3 separate regions of the Homo sapiens genome follow, and regions 1 and 3 are each linked to region 2. The links are contacts of gene promoters, found by promoter capture Hi-C in blood cells and fetal thymus (Javierre and others, 2016). All regions are on one chromosome and are shown on one strand. Each heading gives the region's core, a stretch centred on a gene start or on the middle of the fragment in contact. The rest is flanking DNA. Distances are from core to core; before and after follow the strand shown.

The links. The method cuts DNA at HindIII sites, captures the fragments that hold promoters and counts their contacts. A CHiCAGO score of 5 or more calls a contact.
Region 1: a fragment that was not itself captured here is called in contact with the fragment with the promoter of FKBP1A in region 2 in 1 of 17 cell types (fetal thymus); the score reaches 5.5 in fetal thymus.
Region 3: a fragment that was not itself captured here is called in contact with the fragment with the promoter of FKBP1A in region 2 in 3 of 17 cell types (naive CD4 T cells, fetal thymus and total CD8 T cells); the score reaches 6.4 in naive CD4 T cells.

The regions. Positions count from the first base shown.
Region 1 is chr20:1,773,219-1,777,075 of GRCh38, reverse strand. It overlaps the pseudogene LOC100289473. Among named protein-coding and RNA genes, the nearest start is that of SIRPG, 120 kb to the right of the region's middle. The HindIII fragment of the contact is 3,499 bases long and covers 857-3,857 here.
Region 2 is chr20:1,391,520-1,395,245 of GRCh38, reverse strand. It overlaps FKBP1A (FKBP prolyl isomerase 1A), which reads left to right and starts at 2,192. Exons shown (of 5, transcript NM_000801.5): 1 at 2,192-2,284; 2 at 2,365-2,412. The coding sequence starts at 2,248. FKBP1A-SDCBP2 (FKBP1A-SDCBP2 readthrough (NMD candidate)) reads left to right here and starts at 2,074. Exons shown (of 10, transcript NR_037661.1): 1 at 2,074-2,284; 2 at 2,365-2,412. MIR6869 (microRNA 6869) reads left to right here and starts at 2,285; the gene lies at 2,285-2,346. RefSeq lists silencers at 2,136-2,185, 2,386-2,485, 2,496-2,565 and enhancers at 2,300-2,800, 3,592-3,726. The HindIII fragment of the contact is 4,016 bases long and covers 1-3,289 here.
Region 3 is chr20:1,121,818-1,125,677 of GRCh38, reverse strand. It overlaps PSMF1 (proteasome inhibitor subunit 1), which reads right to left. Exons shown (of 7, transcript NM_006814.5): 2 at 28-180. Among named protein-coding and RNA genes, the nearest start is that of PSMF1, 5.1 kb to the right of the region's middle. The HindIII fragment of the contact is 380 bases long and covers 1,154-1,533 here.

The DNA of each region.
Region 1 (3,857 bases), core at 1,357-3,856, 380 kb before region 2:
AAGTCAAAAAGGACAGTCCCCTGGGGGCAGTGAGGGTGGATGCCTCGGAGTATTACAGCGCAGGCCGCTGCCAGGGTAAGGGTGCCGGACCGGCAACAACAGCCCATCTTCCCACCAGGGCCCTCCACCTCGCATTCTCTCTCTCCCTGACGGAATTGGCCTCTTATCTGGCTGCTGTAAGAATTCTTAAGAGGAATGATCCCACTCAGCTTTCAGTCTCCCCGTGCCTTTTTGTCTGTTGTCCAGCAGAGAGAAGAAAAACACTCACCCAGCAGGATATACAGGTCTGGCTGAAAAACTCAAAACTGGTCCTTTCTGATCAGAAGCAAGTTACGATACTTCTTTATTGACTCATGCTGGTTTTTTCTTCTTTTATTTTTCTCTTTTGCCTGCATGCGGTATATCTGGCCCACTGCTGCAACATTAACCCCCTGGGAGCATCCTTTTGATTATATGGCTCCGCTATGCAGCTTTGTGGGGCCCCGTGGTCTGCAGGGGGAAGGGCAGCCCCTTCCTTTTCTGGCATTTAGGCCCCTTTCTATTTGGTGTTAACAAAGCATTGCAGCTATCCTTCCCCAACCTGGCCCATAAATGCCTTCATCAGCACCCTCACCTGTTACGAACTCCCCACTCTGTCTCTGTTCCTACTGGGTGACACCCGTAGAGCATTTACTGCACACTAGGCATCCTCAAATACATTATCTGATCCTACAACAGAGCCCAGAGCTAGCACAGGGACCAAGGTCTCAGAGGTTCCAAACAGCATAGCTGGGGTTAGAATGCAGGCGTGTCTGTTCAAAAATTCAATGTGTTTTTCTGCATTTTTCTTTCCTATCCTGCCCGAGAATACAAAGCTTAGTGTTATCTCAAGTCTCTTCTCAAATCTCAATTTTAAATGCTCTATTTCTGATATTTATTTCTTCCTGAATTGTGTGGTCTTATCGGTCCATACCAGTTAGTTCTCACAATTAGTATTTAAACTACAAGGGCGTTCCCAAAGTCCCCCGACCTGGGGTTTTATTCCATTTACACCCATCTTCCGTGATTAGACTCTCACATCCTTGAAGCAGGGACTGGCTCTTATGTTTCGAGGTGGCCAAACGTCGGAGTCAAACAGATCAGTGTCCCCAGCCATGTGACCTAAGACAAAACAACTCCCTTTCTTTTTTTGAGATGGAGTTTTGCTCTTATGGCCCAGGCTGGAGTGCAATGGTGTGATTTCAGTTCACTGCAATCTCTGCCTCTCGGGTTCAAGTGATTCTCCTGCCTCAGCTTCCCAAGTAGCTGGGATTACAGGCACACACCACCATGGCCAGCTAATTTTGTATTTTTAGTAGAGATGGGGTTTCACCGTGTTGGTCAGGCTGGTCTCGAACTCCTGAACTCAGGTGATCCACCTACCTCGGCCTCCCAAAGTGCTGGGTTACAGGCGTGAGCCACCACACCTGGCCGCAACTCCCTTTCTGAGTCAAGTTTTCCATTGTTGTAATGACAATTGTTATACCCACCTCAAAGAGCCCTGCTTAAGATTCCTTTCCTTGACTCCTGCTTGGCATCTGGACAATGGGGCCCATAGCAAGTTCTCTGCAGTGACTGTTTGCAGTTTCCACAGTGCCTAGCCCAGAGCTGAGCTGCAAGTAGGACAATATTAAAGGTCATTGGTTAATATAGAGCCAACTGTGCAGAAGTAGAGGCAGCTATGATGTAACAGAAAAAGGCCTTGGCTTGGAGTCAGAATTCCTGGGTTACAATGTCAGTTCTGTTCACTGTGAGGCCCTTGGATGAGTCACTAACCCTCCCTGAGCCTTTTCTTTATCTGTTAATATTAAAAATATGATTAATAATAATTCCTTGGATGGTCATTGTGAGTATATGGTGCGGAGGGCTACCGTTTATATAGTGATTACTGTGTGCTACATATTCTACACTAGTTACATCACTTAATTTATTAATTAACTCTGAGAGAAATGCAAATCAAAACCACAATTAGATACCATCTCACACCAGTCAGAATGGCAAGTATTAAAAACTCAAGAAATGACAGATGCTGGCAAGGCTGTGGAGCAATAGGAACGCTTTTACACTGTTGGTGGCAATGTAAATTAGTTCAACCATTGTGGAAGACAGTGTGGTGATTCCTCAAGGATCTAGAACCAGAAATACCATTTGACCCAGCGATCCCATTACTGGGTACATACCCAAAGGAATATAAATCATTCTATTACAAAGATACATACATGCGTATGTTCATTGCAGCACTACTCACAATAGCAAAGCAGTAAAATAAATTCCTTGACATGGAATCAATCCAAATGTCCATTGGTGATAGACTGGATAAATAAAATGTGGTACATATACCCCACGGAATACTACGCAGCCATAAAAAGGAATGAGATTGTGTCCTTTGCAGGGATGTGGATAAAGCTGGAAGCCATCATCCTCAGCAAACTAATGCAGGAAGAGAAACTCAAACACTACGTGTTCTCACTCATAAGTGGGAGCTGAACAATGAGAACACATGGACACACGGAGGAGAACAACACACACCGAGGCCTGTTGCAGCAGGTGAGGGGAAGGAGAGCATCAGGACCAAAAGCTAATGCATGCGGGGCTTAATACCTAGGTGACGGGTTGATAGGTGCAGCAAACCACCATGGCACATGTTTACCTATGCAACAAACCTGCACATTACGTACATGTATCCCAGAACTTAAAGTAAAATAAAATTTAAAAAAAGAAAGAAAAGAAAAATGTACTTCATCAAAACTAATGGCTAAATAAACAAAGGAAGTCTGAATTTAATTATACTCCAGATATCAAAATGGGATGAATAGTTGTTATAAAATTTAAGCCATTCTTCTTCTATTAAAAAAAATCGCCCCCATTTTACAGATGAAAAAACTGAGGCTCAGAGAGTTAAGTTGCTTGGGCTTCAGTGGAGAGTGGAAATGTAAACTTGGGTTGAGTGAGATCCTAAAGCCTGTGCTCCTAACCTTTTCTCCATGGTTCCAGCCTCTTCTCCATGACCCAGCCTCTGAGAAATGAGGTTTTCTTCCATTTTCAAAGACTGAGGGTAGGGCTGAGTGACAGTAAGGGGTGCCGACCCTGGAGCCTGACTACCTGGCTAAGATCCCAGCTCTGCCACTGACTGATGGACCTTAGACAAGTTACTTAGCCTGCCTGGCCTCAGTTTCCTCATCTGTGAAATGGGGATAGTAACAGCACCCACTTCTGAGGGCTGCTGTGAGAACTCAGTGACTTAGGGAAGAGCCTGTAGGCAGGGTAGGTGCCAAGTGAGTGTTCGCTATGCAGTATCTGTAGGAGTTGACCTCCTTACAAACTGCTGTTGCCCATTGCTACAGTTTCACTGTCCGGCCTCCGTTATCAGATTCAGAAACTGGTTCCTATCAGAACATAACCTTTACATCTTATGAAAGAGGAAGCAATGGGCTTCTTGGCAGATGCTGTGTATTTGTTCACACTGGGGTTCAGGCACCTCTGTGCCCTCTCATGGGAGGGGTCTATCCTTGCAGGCCAGAGTGTCCAGCCTTACAAGTTGCAAGGCCCCCTTCAGCGATCTGAGCCTGGCACAAGGATCCGATTGACCTATGCATCCTCTGGGTTCTCGACACACCAGGTTACTGTGACCTGGCTTAAAAACAAACACGAGCTCCCAAACCCCCAGACCAGCGTCCAGTACAGTGGACACACCTACAATGTGACCAGCAGTGTGCTTGTCCCGCTGATGGATGATGATGTGTTCTCCCACGTCGTTTGCCATGTGGAGCACAAGTTGACGTGGTTTTTCCAGAAAACCACTGGCCTGGACCAGTACCTCCAGGGTAAGATCTCTCTCT
Region 2 (3,726 bases), core at 943-3,442:
AATTTCCAAAGCAGTCACGAGCTCACTGAGATTTTAGGAAAGGGGACATAGATGAGGGTTGGGGTGTCAAAAAACTGTGAGGTCATGTTTAAAACACTACAGGAGCTGGTATGGTTTAGTTCTGTGTCCCCACCCAAATCTTATCTTGAATTGTAATCCCTATAATCCTGAGGTCAAGGGAGGGACCCGGTGGGAGGTGATTGGATGGTGGGGGTGGTTTCCCCCATGCTGTTCTCATGGTAGTGAGTGCATTCTCATGAGAAATGATGGTTTTATAGGTGTTTGACAGTTCCTCTTCACATACTCTCTCTCATGCCTGCTGCTGTGTAAGATATGCCTGCTTCCCCTTCTGCCATGATTGTAAGTTTCCTGAGGATTCCCAGCCATGCAGAACTGTGAGTCAATTAAACCTCTTTCCTCCATAAATTACCCAGTCTCAGGAATTTTTTTTTTTTTTTTTTTTTTTTGAGACTGGTTCTCACTCTGTCACCCAGGCTGGAATGCAGAGGTGCAATCTTGGCTCACTACAACCTCCGCCTCCTGGTTTAAGCAATTCTTATGCCTCAGCCTCTCAAGTGGCTGGGATTACAAGCCTGTGCCACCATGCCTGGCTAATTTTTTTGTATTTTTAGTAGAAACTGGGTTTCACCATGTTGGCCAGGCTGGTCTTGAACGCCTGGCCTCAAGTGATCTGCCCGCCTCAGCTTCCCAAAGTGCTGGGATTACAGGCATGAGCCACCGTGCCCAGCCTCAGGTATTCTTTATAGCAGTGTGAGAATCGACTAATGCAGAAGCACACACACACACAGATCAGAGAAAGATTAGTCACATGTGCCTCCTTATGTCCTAGACCATGTCACAGTGTTCTCTTGCGTTACAGTGCCTCTGCAGGTACTGCTCCTTCTGCCTCCCCTTACCCCAACACATACACACAATTGGCCTTCTAACCTTGGCTAAACCTGGCTAAACCTGGCTAACTCAGGGAAATATCTGACCACATTCCAGACTAAGTGAGGCATCTCTGTTATATTAACACGCCCCTCACAGCATGTATTACTGTCTCATAATATTACAGATTTGAAACTTTACATTTATTCCGTATCTTTTTTTACTTAAACAGGTTATTTGATTATCTCTCCCACATCATACGTAGATTCTGTGAGGTCAGGGACTAAGTCTGACTCCTTCACCGCTGTATCCTCAGCACCTAGCACAGTACATGACATACAGAAGGTGCTTGTCAAAGTCAAAATAAAATATGGAGATGAATCTCTAAATGTAATGTTTTATTTGGGGAAGCGAGAATCGCAACTCGGAGCATACACACAGATCTGGTGGTCTTTGGTATGTCCGAAAAACAAAGAGAAGGCTGGGCGTTTTATTAGAAAGGGAAATGCATTGGCACTAGTAAAGTTTCAGGGAGCTGGCAAGCTCTGATTGGTGACTGACAGTGGTAAGTAAAACTAGTATTAGGTTATGGCGGGTTGTTTCAGCAGTTACTAGCTGAATCTGGTCTCAGGGGGACAGCAGGCCATTTCCGCAGCAGTTAGTGGAAATATTGGTTCTTGGAGCAGGCGCTGCGTGCCTCCAGTGCTTTTCCCCTGGCCCCTGGATTCTGATTCCGTTGGGCATAAGAAGAGTGACCCAATTCGTATTATCAACTTTCACATGCTCAATAAGAATGTATGCATGTAAGCTATGGGTGAGTGAATGAATTTGGACAACTCCTCCTCCAGTGAAGAAAAGCAGAACTTACAACCTTGAGCCACTTATAAAATACTAACATACTACCACCACCTGTGCGCTGTCTTCTCAGAACCATGCTCTTCCCAGGATGAGTAACTGTGTGCTTCTAAGTGGAAACCTGATGACAGTCACCCAGTCAGTGACTGGCGGACCCCCTATTATTACTCCCATTCTTTGGGCAGGGAGATGCTTAACCGGCTGGAAGCACAGAGGAAGGGCAGGAGAACGAAGCAAGTCACCCGGCAAACACAGCTGTATCCGGAGGCCTCCGGGCTTCCGGAGGTCTCGGGGCTTCTGGGCTTCCGGTCCCTCTTCCGGAGGCCTGGGTTTCCGGGACGTCGCGCGCCGTGTGGGGCGCGCACGCAGGGCTGGGCGTGAGGGGGCGTGCGCGTGCGCAGGCGACGCGCCGAGGTACTAGGCAGAGCCGTGGAACCGCCGCCAGGTCGCTGTTGGTCCACGCCGCCCGTCGCGCCGCCCGCCCGCTCAGCGTCCGCCGCCGCCATGGGAGTGCAGGTGGAAACCATCTCCCCAGGAGACGGTGAGTAGTGGCGCGCGGCGGCTCGGAGTACCTCTGCCGCCGCGCGCATCGGCTCAGCATGCCCGTCTCTGTCTCCTCAGGGCGCACCTTCCCCAAGCGCGGCCAGACCTGCGTGGTGCACTACACCGGTGAGTCGGGGGCCCAGCGGGGAGGGGGCCCGGGCCGCAGTCCGCAGCCCGGGTGCGGCTGGCCGTCGAGGCCTGGGGGCCCGGGGCCTGGGGTCCGGGGCGTGGCGGCGGCGAGGTCCGCATGGCCCGAGGCTGAGGCCTGGGCGGTGGCTCAGGGGCAGCCTGGGGCTTGCGGAACCCGGGCGGGTCTGAATCGGCGGCTGTGAGCGTCGGCTGCGGGCTAGGTGTTATCTGACCCGTCAGAAGCATTTCTGCACCTTAGATGCTGCCCTTATGCCCGCTGCACAGATGAGGAAACTGAGGCTTGGCGAGGCGAAGTCACTTTCCCAAGGTCTCACTTTCCCAAGGTCACACTTTCAGGAATGGGCAGAGCTCTGGCCAGGGACCATTAGGAAGGATTTGTACCATTTCTGTGCCCCTGCCCCCACTTCCATCCCTCCCTTCACTGGAGATGAGGACGAGGTAATTCCGAGTCTGCAGAGCTGCTGCTTCCTCCGGGGAACTCGGAATTCGCCCCTTTGCCTAGGGTGGGGAAACATCCCACTTCCTAAGTCATTGCTTTGGCCCTTCCTGGCCTTGGGGGAAGTAGAGCTGCACGGCCTTCTTCCGTCTTTTTACTTTTGAGCCACTTACAAATCCAAGGCTCAGTGACAGCGCTGGCTCAGGCTGACCGAAAGCTGCACGTGTAATTTAGTCCCCCAGCTCTTCTAGAAGTAGAGACTTTTCTCGTCCTCATTTTAAAGATAAGCATCTGGAGGCTAATACATAGTGATAATACAAGCCAAAGGAAATTTTAGACACCTCCCCCTCCCCAGCCAGAATTCAGACATCAGAGTCGTGTGCCTTGGGGCTGTCTTACTCCTTCTCCTTACAAGCTTGTCCTGGTTTGTATGGGGGCGGGGGAGGGGGAGAGCTGAGTTGGCGGAGACTCAGTGGCTGTGGGTCCCACAAGGGTGGCAGTGATTGGTGTAGCCACAGTTGTTGATACGAATAACCTTCCCTCCCCCTCCTCCTTCCCCTTTCTCAACCTTCCCACCCTTTCCTCTGTTCCCCCTCCTCCTCCCTCTTTTTTTCCCACTCCCTCTCCTCCTCTTCCTCCTCCTGGGTAGTAGGCTGTGGGCAGTTCTGGCCAAGTTGCTCACGAATAAGCTCCACCTTTCTCTTCCAAATCATGGAAACATGGAGGGATCCCTCTATTGAGGGAAATGACTTTCACTGGAAAGAGGAAAAGGCAACTAACATCCCCCCTCCCATGCCCTTTTATTTCTGTGGCCCTTCCCCGTGGGTAGAAATGGGGGCAGGAGGTAGAAGTTA
Region 3 (3,860 bases), core at 94-2,593, 270 kb after region 2:
GCAGACTCACGTGTCCCAGAGACTCACCAGCACATTGAGGATCATGCTGCTCTCCACGGTGATGGCTTTCACAAGGAGCTTTCTGGACCCATCCTTATACTCATACCGGAGGACATACAGGTCTTTATTGTTGTTCCACCCAGCTGGCAGCAGTTCTGACTTCTTATCATTGGGACCCGGCTGGGAAGACCACAGTTGAGAGGAGAAAGATCATGAACTCAAAACACAGAACTATAAAGAACCTCACGAGATAAGCTAATCTTACCCACCTCACTTCACAGATGAAGATGTGGAGGTCAAGAGAAATGACTTGCCCAAGATCCTACAGCGAGAGAGAGGTCTAGGGCCCAGGTCTCTGGGCTTCTGTTCTACTGCGCTCTCCCTCATATTGAGCTACCTTTCTGACACAGCACTGGAACCTGTCAAGAATCTGCAGTGTTGGTTTAATAATTATCTCTTCCCCATCCCACTGCTAAGAATAAAGCCAGTCATCTTGAGGAACACTGCGAAGTTCTAAGTAGTGTTTTTCAAAGTTTGGACGTTAGGCTAACTTCAATAGGATTACCAAGGTGTTGACTAAAAACACAGATCCGAATACACGCTAACTGACTGCAGTGATGTACAAAAATTATAATTTCATAATACACAAAATGTAGCACATGTACAAATAACAAAGAATTATAAAATGTCTCTACCACCAGCTTAAGAAATAGAACATCAGCAATACTGCTAAAGCCTTGGGTAGCATACTCCAATAAATGTCCCTCCTTCCCCTTCAAGGGTAATCACCACTCTTAAACAATTTCTTTACTTTTCCTTAGAGTTATATTACTATACATGCAACCATAAAAATATAGCTTCAAATGTTTTTGAATTTTAAATACACAGCATCACTTCCGTCATTTGCCTTTTTTATTTGATAGTTTTTGGAAATGTATCCATGTCAATGCATTTAACTACAGCTGATTCACATTCACAGCTACACAGCATTCTGTATGACTATGCTGCAATTTATACATCTACTTGTTGATGGTGATTTGGAGTATTTCCAGCTTATTTGTTTTGCTATTATAAACAATGCTGCTATGAACATTCTTGTACACATCTGGTACACGTGGATAAATTTCTATACAGTATGCATGGAGGAAAAGCTTTTAATTTATAAGATAAAGTCAAGTTGTTTTCTAAAGAGTTACTGATTTATACTCCCACTAGCAATGTATGAAAGCTCCTGTTGCTCCGTGTAGTTGGCAACATTGCTATTATTGCTTGCCAATCTAGTAGGGGTAAAATGCTTGCCATTTTCATGCTTGTCAGCCTGGTGGGTGTAAAATACATCTTTTATTGTGAGTTGTGATGTCTTCCTCTTTTCTTTTTTAAAAATCCTAAGACTTTCCATACTAAAGTTTGAGAAATAGTTCTCAAATTATTTCTACAGGAAAAATAATATAGTGATTTCTAGGTGGGGAAGATTTCTTAAACAAGATCCATAAAAGAAAATGCTGCCTTTGACACTGTTCATAATTGAAAGCTTCTGTTCTACAGAGACACTACTAAATTAATAAGGAGCCACAGGCTAGGAAGAGACATTTGCCATGGCTGCAAAGGAAAGAAATTAATAACCTCTACATAAAGGGAATGCCTGGAAAATGAACAATAACAATTGGGAACTCCAAAAAGTGGCAAAAGATATGAACAAGAAAAAGAGCGGCTAATAGTGTCTAAAGAGTTATTCAATTTTACTAGCAATCAGAGAAGCAGAACTGAAATAATGAGACACTAAGTTACATGATTCGGACTGTTATTACCCAGTTTTCTATTTTTTGCCAGATGTCTGTGTAGGTGTGGGGAGAATGGGAACCTCCAGTCCCTGCTGGTGGGCATTTAAACTTGCACAGCCCCTTCGGGGAGCAATCTGACAGTTTTTAGTGCAATTAGATGAGCCAATATCCTATGATCCAAAATCCCTACTCCCAGAAGAAACCCTGTGCACAGGGTACATAACAAAGGATCTTCATTATAGCCTTGGCTAAGGTAGCAAAAGTGGAGATAAAATGCAAAATATGCTTATAGTGGAATACTATATAGCAGTCAGAAGGAATAAACCAGATCTAATGATAGTATTATATATAAAAGAAAAAATATGATTTAAAGAAAAGTTCCCCAAAAAATGAGGTTTACACTCCAGTACCACTTATGTAAAAATTTTAAAAAGCACAAAAAAATGCTATAATCTTTTTTCATGGATGTATATTTATATTGCTCACCATGGGGCAGGTGGACTGGGAAGATCTGTAGTCATGAGAATACAGCGGGAGGGAGTGGGACCGGAGATGAAGAAAATGGAAAAGACAAAGGTCCAGCAAAGCAAAACTTCACACACCAAGGACAAGGGGAGACCACACATTGAGAATTGCTGGCCTCTCCTGTTTCGTCACCCCTGGTGCTCAGAAATCCTCTGGGGAAAGAGATCCCAAATAAAATTCAGGATGTCGCAACTGTCATGGTTTAAAACCTGGCTGGATGACAATGAAATTCATAGGCCTGAAGCATAGAAATGAGAGTGAGGAAAAACAAAAGTAAAACTAATCAAACCATTCTTCTGCGAAAAAGAAACTATCCCCTCACCCCAAACTGGGTAAATTTCCCGAATATGTTTAGTGTTTAGTGTCGTGGATTTGTTTACTTTGGAAGCCAGGAATTTGATGACATCCTCATCTTTGCTCTGGCAAACGCCTTTAAATTTATATTATATCCTCCATGTACAGCATTCAATCCACCAGAGTTCTCTCTTGGAATATAAACAATTTGGTCTGCTCACCACCCCATCACCTTTGGCTTCCAGAGTTACAGAAAATCCCTGAAGTCAGGTGAAACTGATATCTCTAACTGCAGTGCAATTGATGTTCCCCAGTAAACAGAGGACAGACCCTGGCGATATCAGGCCAAACATGGTCTGCAACTGCCCTGTAAACCCTGACATCAAATATCAAGAGTCCCAGAAAGCCACAGTTGGAAAGTAGCCTAAGTACACAGTCACGTGGTTTAACTTCCTCTGATGAAAAATCAAAGGCCTGAGGCTGAGCGCGGTGGCTCTTGCCTGTAATCCCAGCCCTTTGGGAGGCAGAGGCAGGCAGATCACTTGCATTCAGGAGTTCGAGACCAGCCTGGCAAACATGGTGAAACCCTGTCTCTACTAAAAATACAAAAAAAATTAGCCAGGCATGGTGGCGGGGACCTGTAATCCCAGCTACTGAGGATGCTGGGGCAGAATTGCCTGAACCCAGGAGGCAGAGGTTACAGTGAGCCAAGATAGCACCACTGCACTCTAGCCTGAGTGACAGAGTGAGACATCTCGGATTAAAAAAAAAAAAAAAAAAAAGAAAAGAAAAAGAAAAAGAAAAGAAAACTCTAAGGCCTGAGATGGTCAGAGAGCTGCCCAAGGTCTCAGCAAGTCAGGTGTAGGGCTGTGCTTGGAATTCAGAGCTCCTGATTGCCCAGGCTATGGCTAGAGAAGGTTTTTCCCAGCCAGGTCCACAAGACTGGCCCTAAGAGAATAAAGATAATTGTCTTCTTAGGCAAAATCCTGGCACTGGAAGCATTCTTTAATGGCCATGAATTTGCCCCAATGCCTCTGAACTAAAATTCACCCAAAGAAACTTAAACAGATCATTTTGGGCATTTTCTCTCTTTCATCATAATCCTTAGATTTCCCACAACAGAAAACAAAATTCTCTAACTTATGTCGATAACCACCTAAGTCATCCCTTACCTATCCCCTTGGCACCCAAACCACTTGACAAAGCTGTAAAGTTCTTGTGAGGAGTGGTTCTGACTTCAAGAAAGAAATCCAAATTCAA